2 separate regions of the Homo sapiens genome follow, and region 1 is linked to region 2. Evidence: promoter capture Hi-C in human tissues and cell types (Jung and others, 2019). All regions are on one chromosome and are shown on one strand. Each heading gives the region's core, a stretch centred on a gene start or on the middle of the fragment in contact. The rest is flanking DNA. Distances are from core to core; before and after follow the strand shown. Region 1 overlaps FHAD1 (forkhead associated phosphopeptide binding domain 1). Region 2 holds the start of FHAD1 (forkhead associated phosphopeptide binding domain 1).

Evidence for each region. Contacts are between HindIII fragments. The study calls those that stand out against the background at their distance.
Region 1: a fragment that was not itself captured here is called in contact with the fragment with the promoter of FHAD1 in region 2 in 1 of the 25 tissues and cell types used here (aorta).

Annotation. Positions count from the first base shown.
Region 1 is chr1:15,308,801-15,312,704 of GRCh38, reverse strand. All of the region lies in intron 7 of FHAD1 (forkhead associated phosphopeptide binding domain 1), which reads right to left. Among named protein-coding and RNA genes, the nearest start is that of FHAD1-AS1, 33 kb to the left of the region's middle. The HindIII fragment of the contact is 6,121 bases long and covers 1-3,904 here.
Region 2 is chr1:15,245,483-15,249,337 of GRCh38, reverse strand. FHAD1 (forkhead associated phosphopeptide binding domain 1) reads right to left here and starts at 2,115. Exons shown (of 34, transcript NM_001391957.1): 1 at 1,943-2,115. RefSeq lists silencers at 1,850-2,089, 2,107-2,280. The HindIII fragment of the contact is 8,594 bases long and covers 1-3,855 here.

The DNA of each region.
Region 1 (3,904 bases), core at 806-3,305, 63 kb before region 2:
GAAACCGTCTCTAGCACTTACTAGCTCAGTCGTCTTTTTTCTTGAGACAGGGTCTTACTCTGTCACCCAGGCTGGAGTACAGTGGCACGATCATGGTTCACTACAGCCTCGACCTCCTGGACTCAGGCGATCCTCCTGCCTTGGCCTCCCAAGTAGCTAGGACTACAGGTACGTGCCACTATGCCTGGCTAATTTTTGTATTTTTTGTAGACATGGAGTTTTGCCCATGTTGCCCAGGCGGGTCTCAAACTCCCAGGCTGAAGCAATCCACCAGCCTCTGTCTCCCAAAGTGCTGGGATTACAGATGTGAGCCACAATGCCCAGCCTAGCTTAGTGGTCTGAAGAAGTTATTTAACCTCTCATTGTATCTACAGAGTTGTATAAAGAACATAGTAGAGTGGCTAACACATAGTGTTTATTCCCTGCCACCCACAAGTATATGTGGTAGCCAGCTTGCAAAATGGCCCCCATGATCCCTGCCTGTTAGAATACCTGGCCTCGTGTAGCCCCCTCCCACCTGAATAGGGCTGACGTGTGTAACTCATATGGCACTGTGGAAGTGGTGAATGTGACTTCCCAGGGTGAATCATCAAAGATGTTGTGGTTTCTTCTTTGCTCTCCTTGGATCACTCAGTCTGGGGAAAGCCAACCGCCATGTTGTGAGGACACTCAAGCAGCCCTAGGGAAGGACACACATGGTGAGGAACTGAGGCCTCCAGCCAACAGCCATGTGAGCGAGTCATTCCAGAAGGGGATCCTCGAGCCCTAGTCGGGCTTTAGATGACATGACAGCAGTAGCTCCTGCAACCTCGTGAGAGACCCTGAGCCAGACTAAGTCACTCCCAAGTTCCTGAACCACAGAAACCGGGTAAGATAAACATATTTGTTGCTTTTTTGGGATAACTTATGTGACAGCAGATAGTCAATATATTATTGTATTATCACATTGAGAAAAAGTGAGAAGAAGGGTGCATAATGCAGTGGTATTGGGTTATCTCATACGGTCCTTTTCTTAGAAAAACATTCATCCTAGTTTTATTGGTGGGTATCAATCAAGAATCAATCTTTATTGCACAATCAAGGATGTGTAATAAAGAACAACATGATTCAGAATTTCATTGTAAAAATGAGCTTCGTCCGGGGACACAGTTAAGTTCCTTAGAAACAGACTGCTCTCTCTGGGGCTTGCCTGCATGCTTTGTGAGGCGGGACCAGAGTGACCTTTTCTCTAGAATGAATTTGGCTTGAGTCTCTACCAGGTGCCCTGTGTAGTGCAAGGTTGCCCCATTCTGGATGGTGGGAAAGTGAGCTACTCTCAGGCCTACGTGGGCTTCGAGATGGTTCCCTCTGCTCCTCCTGGGTGGTTCCTTCCCTGCCCACATGCACGTGCTCATCACACCTGACTCTGCTGAAGACTTGAGGCGGACCCTCTGAGATCTCCGGGGTGCTCTCCGTGCAGCCCCCTCCCGCCTGGCACGCCACCCAGCAAACTCAAGCTGTGCTGGCTTCTCCACCTCCATCTCCTCAAGTCGGGCTGACCACTGGGCTCTGTCTGGCTTCCCCTCCCTGCTGTGGTCTGGAAACTCTCTCCAGCGCAAGCCAGCCGGGGGCAATCGTAGATTTCATCTTGTTTGTTTCCACTCCCTCCCAGATCATCGTCACATGCTTCTTGGGGCCAATAGATGGAAACCATTATTTCAGACATTTTTTTCTGTTTGTTTGGTTTTTGTTTGTTTGTTTGAGTTGTTTCAGGCAGGTGAGGAAATCCGCACCTTGTTCCTCCATCTGCCTCTCTTCCTGTGGAAGATGGGGTTTGTGATGTGTTGTGATGGCTTCTGTGAGCCTGGGTCACTGTGTGGCCACAATGACCAAAGCCCCTACTGACCCATGATGGGCTCAGGGTGGAAGCAGGAGCTGAACCTGTCTATTGTGAGCCACTGAGACTTGGGGGACTGTTTGTCACTGCAGCGTAACCCGGCCCAGTGCTTCTCGAGCTTAAGTGTGCACAAGCAGCAGCCGGGAGGCTTGTGAAAATGAAGATTCTGATCGGAAGGTCAGGAGTGGGGCCTGAAATTCCCAGTTTCTCACAAGGATCCAGGTGATGCTGATGCTGCTGGTCCAGGGACCACACTTGGGGCCGTGAGAGTGTAGCCCATCCCAGGCCATACCTGAGCCCAGGTCTGTCTGACTCCTTGATTAGAGGAGTGGTGTCTGAGACAGGCTTGTAGCGTGGATGGGGTGTGATGGACAGACGCTGGGGAGGAGGGCAGGGCCCAGCGAGATCCCCCTGGGATGCCTGGTGCCCAGAGCAGCCCTGCCCATAGGGCTCACAAGTATCCAAGAACATTCCATGTTAGGGAAGAACAGAGGTAGAAGCCTGGAGTGGGGAGGGGGACTGCAGAGTGAGGCAGAGGGAAAGCCACGGCCAGGCGGCCTGGGTCCTGCGGAGACAGCGATTGTGTCTGACTCAATGCTACGCTCTGCTTTCACAGCCACGGGCATGTTTCCTGCTGTGCAGGGGGGACTTTAGGAGCAATATGCCCAATCTGGACTCATTCCCTCTCCACCACCTGCTTTTCTCTCTTCCCCCTTTCTCTGTCCATGGCCCTATCATCTGCAGGTCTCGAGACATGCCATTCTCTGCCTTAAAAACCCTAACGTGTCCCATCACACTTAGAAGAAAACCTGAACCCCTCCCATGTAATGTGGCCCTGCCTCCCCCCTGACCCCACCAGGTCCCATAGCCCCTTGTTCCCTGACTCCAGCCACACTCGCCGGCAGTTGATCCAACACCGTGGCTTGGTCCAGCCTCGGGGCCTTTGCACCTGTGCTCTCTGCCCAGCATACCGTTCCCAGGGGCCTCCCGACAGCCCCTCCCACCTCCTCAGAGATATCCCTGCCCAGGCACTAAGCCAGGGATGTCCAATCTTTTGGCTTCCCTGAGCCACACTGGAAGAAGAAGAAGGGTCTTGGGCCACGCATAAAATACACTCACGCTAATAATAACTGATGAGCTAAAAAAAAAAATCGCTAAAAAAAAAAAATCTCATAATGTTTTAGGAAAGTTGAGGAATTTGTGTCGAGCCTCATTCAAAGCTGTCCTGGGCCATATGTGGCCCGCAGGTCGTGGGCTGGACAAGCTTGCACTAAGCTATTCTCCTTCACTTCACCCCCTGAGTGCTTCCCCACCACGGTGTCCAGCTTTATTTCCTCTGGAGCACTGATCTCTCTCTGGTATGGGCTTGTTCATTTATCTTTTTACTTCTTATTGTCTGTCATCCTCTCCCAAGTGTGAGCCCCATGAGCAGAGGGGCAGAGGGATCTTGACTGCTCAGGGCTCTCTCTCCCCAGTGCCTAGAACAGTGCCTGGCATCTAGCAGCTGCTCCATAAATGTGCTGAATGAATGAATGAATGAATGAATCCAGGCTAAGAAACAGCTGTGCCTGGCAAGGGTGGGCCATGAGTTGGCTGCCCCCTTGCCCACCCAAGTTCTTGAGTATCCAGCTACCTCTCAATTAGCAAAATGCTTTCGCTCCGGCCCAAGAGCACCAGTGTGAGATGGGTAAGAGGCTGGGTGCCTTAAACTGGCAACCCCATTTTAGCCACATTCTAGTTTGCATTCACAGCAAACTGGCTCATGGGACTGCCTGAGCTGCAGCTTGTCCTGTGTGTTCCCTGGTGAGGTCCATGCTCAGCAGGCCTTTTAGCTAACAGATAACATTTGCTCAAATATTTATCAAGGGCTCACTCCAAACCAGGCCCTATGCTAGGAACTGGATGGCACATAAACCTCTGAGGGTGAACTCAGATTCATGGACAGGAACTGCCTAAAGGGCTGCTGGGAAGAACTCTGAGGCTGCAGCCAAGTTCAGTAACAAAAAGTATGTGGTTGATTGGTGATGT
Region 2 (3,855 bases), core at 866-3,365:
CCAGAGTAAAACCCCAAATCTGAATGACTGGCTTTTTTTTTTTTTTTAGCTCTTCCCCCCGATGTTTCCACAGCTGGTGCCTTGCGGTAGCTACCTGACCACCCCAGCTAAAGGCGTCACCAGTCACTTTGTTGTCTAGCTAGCATGTGTCACTGCTGTGGCTCCTTCCTTGAGCTTATCATTCTCTGTCATTTTCTTGTTCTTTACTTAGCTGTTTACTGTTTCCCTTTCACTGAGATACGTTCCAAGAGAGCCCAAACTGTGTTGTTTTTGTTAAACTCAATTCTCCATGGGTTTCCTGTGTTTGTACCCATCTTCAGAGCAAAGACACTGACAGATTTTGTTCCAGACAATCTTCCAAGGACATCTGTAGGGCAAATATCCTGAGAGGATAGGGATAGTGTCCCTATCCAGGGCAGAGTGCAGATTTATGATAAAAATGTCATCTCTGGCTGGGCACGGTGGCTCATGCCTGTAATCCTAGCACTTTGGGAGGCCCAGGTGGACGGATCACCTGAGGTCAGGAGTTTGAGACCAGCCTGGCCAACATGGCGAAACCCTGTCTCTACTAAAAACACAAAAAAATTAGCCGGGCATGGTGGCTTGCACCTGTAGTCCCAGCTAATCGGAAGTCTGAGGCAGGAGAATCACTTGAAACCGTGCAGCAGAGGTTGCAGTGAGCTGAGATTGTGCCACTGCACTCTATCTAGCTTGGGAGACAGAGCAAGACTCTGTCTCAATTAAAAAAAAAAAAAAAAGGTCATCTCCTTCCAGGGCAAAGGTTGGGCACTGGCTAGCAGCCCCTTTTAAAAGACTGGAGTTTCCTGAGCTTGGGGTTCCTTAGCTGGGAAACAGACTCGCAGTGTGCACAGCATCCACCTGAGCTGTCCTGCATCACCCCGGGGTACTTGCAGGGCAAGGGGAACCAACGCAAACATGAGCTCACAGTGCCTGCTGTGCTGTGAGTAATAACATCCTTTGTCTCTGGTCCTGGAGTCTCTGGTCTTCTGCTAGCATCATTAAGCAGTGGCAGGCTAACTTAGCTTGCAAGTAGTGTAAAAATCTCAGACCCTTTGCATTTCCTCACAGTCTGTTCATTACTCCCCTCTGGCCCCCAGCGCTGCCATGCCTGACACATAGTGGTGCTCAGTAAATCATGAATGAATGAAAGTACAAAACAATGCTTAAAAGTAAGTCAGGGTAGCCTAAGAACCTCTGACAGTAACTACCTTTCATTTTCCCCTTCAGTATTTATCCTAGATGACATTCTGGAAAAAAAAAAAAAAGTCTATTTCTTTAGCTGAATGGGTTGGGCCCTATTTCCCCACTTTAATCTTGCCCTGTGCAGTCACTTTCCTACCTGAAAACACTGTAGAAAGTGATTAGATGCGTTAAACTCTGTAAATTAGTTCTAAGACACAGGGCACCGACCATGCAAAAGAGCAAAAGAGCTTCAGGCATCTGCACTCCCTGCTTATAGGTCACAAGTGAGATAGAGAAGCAAAATTTCTGTTGAGGGGTTACCAGATCTTAAGTGGCCTGGGAGCCCTAGAAATTCCTCAGTGTTGTATTTGGGAAGGGAGAGGTTAGGCAAGGGGGGAGTCTCTCTGACCGCCGGGTGGGTGTCGTTCGTAAGTCAGGGGCAGCAGGGATGCCCCTCCTAATCCCAGCTGTAACCCCCAGGACTTCCCAGAGTGGCATGGCTGGTGCCAAGGAGGGTCTAAGGCTCCCGGGGGCTTCCTCCGCGGGCGGGGTGGGGCCTGCATCTGGAAAGGAGGGGCTGGTGTTGGGGTAGCTACTGGGGTGCTCCTGGGGACCGGAGCCTGGATCCAGGAGGATGGGGCCGGGGAGCCACCCCTCCTCCTGCCAGGGCTAGTCCTCGCTGGGCCGCCCCTTCCGGTCCCCGGTCTCGGCCCGCCACCCCTTCCCGCGCCGCACTCACCTGGCGGGAGGAGGAAGCCCACGCTCCGACCTCCGCCGAGAGCCCTGCCAGCTCGGGAGGCGTCGGGCCAGCTCCGGGGCGAAGCCTCCCGGCCGCGCTCCCGCGGAGTCTCCAGCTCGCACCCGGCACCCCGCCCGCCCGGCCGGCCTGTGTACGCGCGTTGCCATGGCAACGCCGCCAGGCGCCGCGGGGTCCAGCCTAATAGATGAGGGCGTGGCCTGCGCGGCAGAGGGGGCGTGGCACCGTGCAGGGAACGCCCACTGGGTTACCGCCTGCTGAATGCTCCAGGCCCCACGAGCCTGCCCCATTTCACAGATAGGAAAGCGGAGGCTCAGAGGTCACAGAAATGGCCCAAGGTTTTACAGCGAGGAAGGAGCAGGGAGGAGATTTGATTCAAGAATCCTTTCCATTACCCCTCACTGTAAGCTGGATGCGTTGAGGGAGGGTCGGGGGCGATAGGGAGAGGTAGGAGATTGATGGAGCTGAACTCATGAGACCCTTGGAGGTTAGTATGCCCCCTGCCCTACCCAAATCTCTAGTCCTTTCCGTTACAGGCCAGAAAATAGAAAGAGTAAGAAGAGGGGATCTCTGGGAGTGGGGTGGGGATTGGGAAAGGGATGGGGTGGAATGAAAAATTTTGAAAGAATGAGGATTTCTTCCATGTGCTGGGGAAAAAATATTTCCAAACTCACAATCCTGCTGCCTCTGCTCCTCCCTGTTAAGAGTGACATTTATTCATTCTTTTGCCCTTTCTCTATCTCTGCAAACATCTTTTGAGTCCTATGAGTGTCACACGCTGATCCCAGAATACACCTGGAACAGTTACTGTCCTTAAGAAACCGCTTGTCAGCCGGCACAGGACTCGCGGGATGGAGTGTGTTGAGCAGATGTGCAAATCCTATCTCCCGCCACTATCTCCAGCAGGAAATCCTATCTCCTGCTGACTCTACCTGGAGAGTGATTCCTTTCACTGGCAGGAAATGGCTGACCAGACACCTCAAGAAAAACTCTAAACGTTTTTCTAAGAGAGATGAACTATGGCACATTCTACCCTAGTGATACGGTTTGGCTGTGTGTCCCCACCCAAATTTCATCTCGAATTGCACTCCCCACGTGTTGGAAGAGGGGCCTGGTGGGAGGTGATTGAATCATGGGGGCAGACTTCCCGCTTGCTTTTCTCATGATAGCGAGTGAGTTCTCATGAGATCTGATGGTTTAAAAGTGTGGCACTTCCCCCTTTGCTCTCTCTCTCTCCTGCTACACCATGTTACAACATGCTAGCTTCCTTGCTTCCCCTTGGCCTTCCGCCATAACTGTAAGTTTCCTGAGGCCTCCCTAGCAGTGCAGAACTGTGAGTCAATTAAACTTCTTTTCTTTGTAAATTATTCAGTCTCAAGGAATTACTTTATAGCAGTGTGAGAACAGACTAATACACCTAGTCAATAGGAAGAGGATCTGAGAGAGAAATCATGGACATCGATTTGTGGTGGAATATACAGTGAAGATGCTCAAACGTGCCTGGAGGCTTTTAGAAATGCGGACTTCTGGGCACAGACCCCAGAGATTCTGATTTAGCAGGCCTGGGACATAATCCAGGAATGTGCATTTGCAACAAGCTTGACAAAACCCTGATTTATGCAGCTGAACTGCAGAGACCTCTCCCGGAGCCTGTCCCTACAAATCTCTTCCAGGCCCTCAGTCTGGAAGGTTCTGCCTGGATCAGTTTCCTACAACCAGAAAGATTCTAGGCGTAAAATGTTAGGAGGGACCACAAGGGCTGGGACCCAAGTGATGGCTTCACAGGAACAGAGAGGGTCAAGCTCAGCTTCCCACACGTTTCTGCCTCAGAGCCTTTGCTCTTGCCCATTCCTCTGCCTGGAATGCACTTCCCCTCAAGAGTCTCCTTTGCCTTC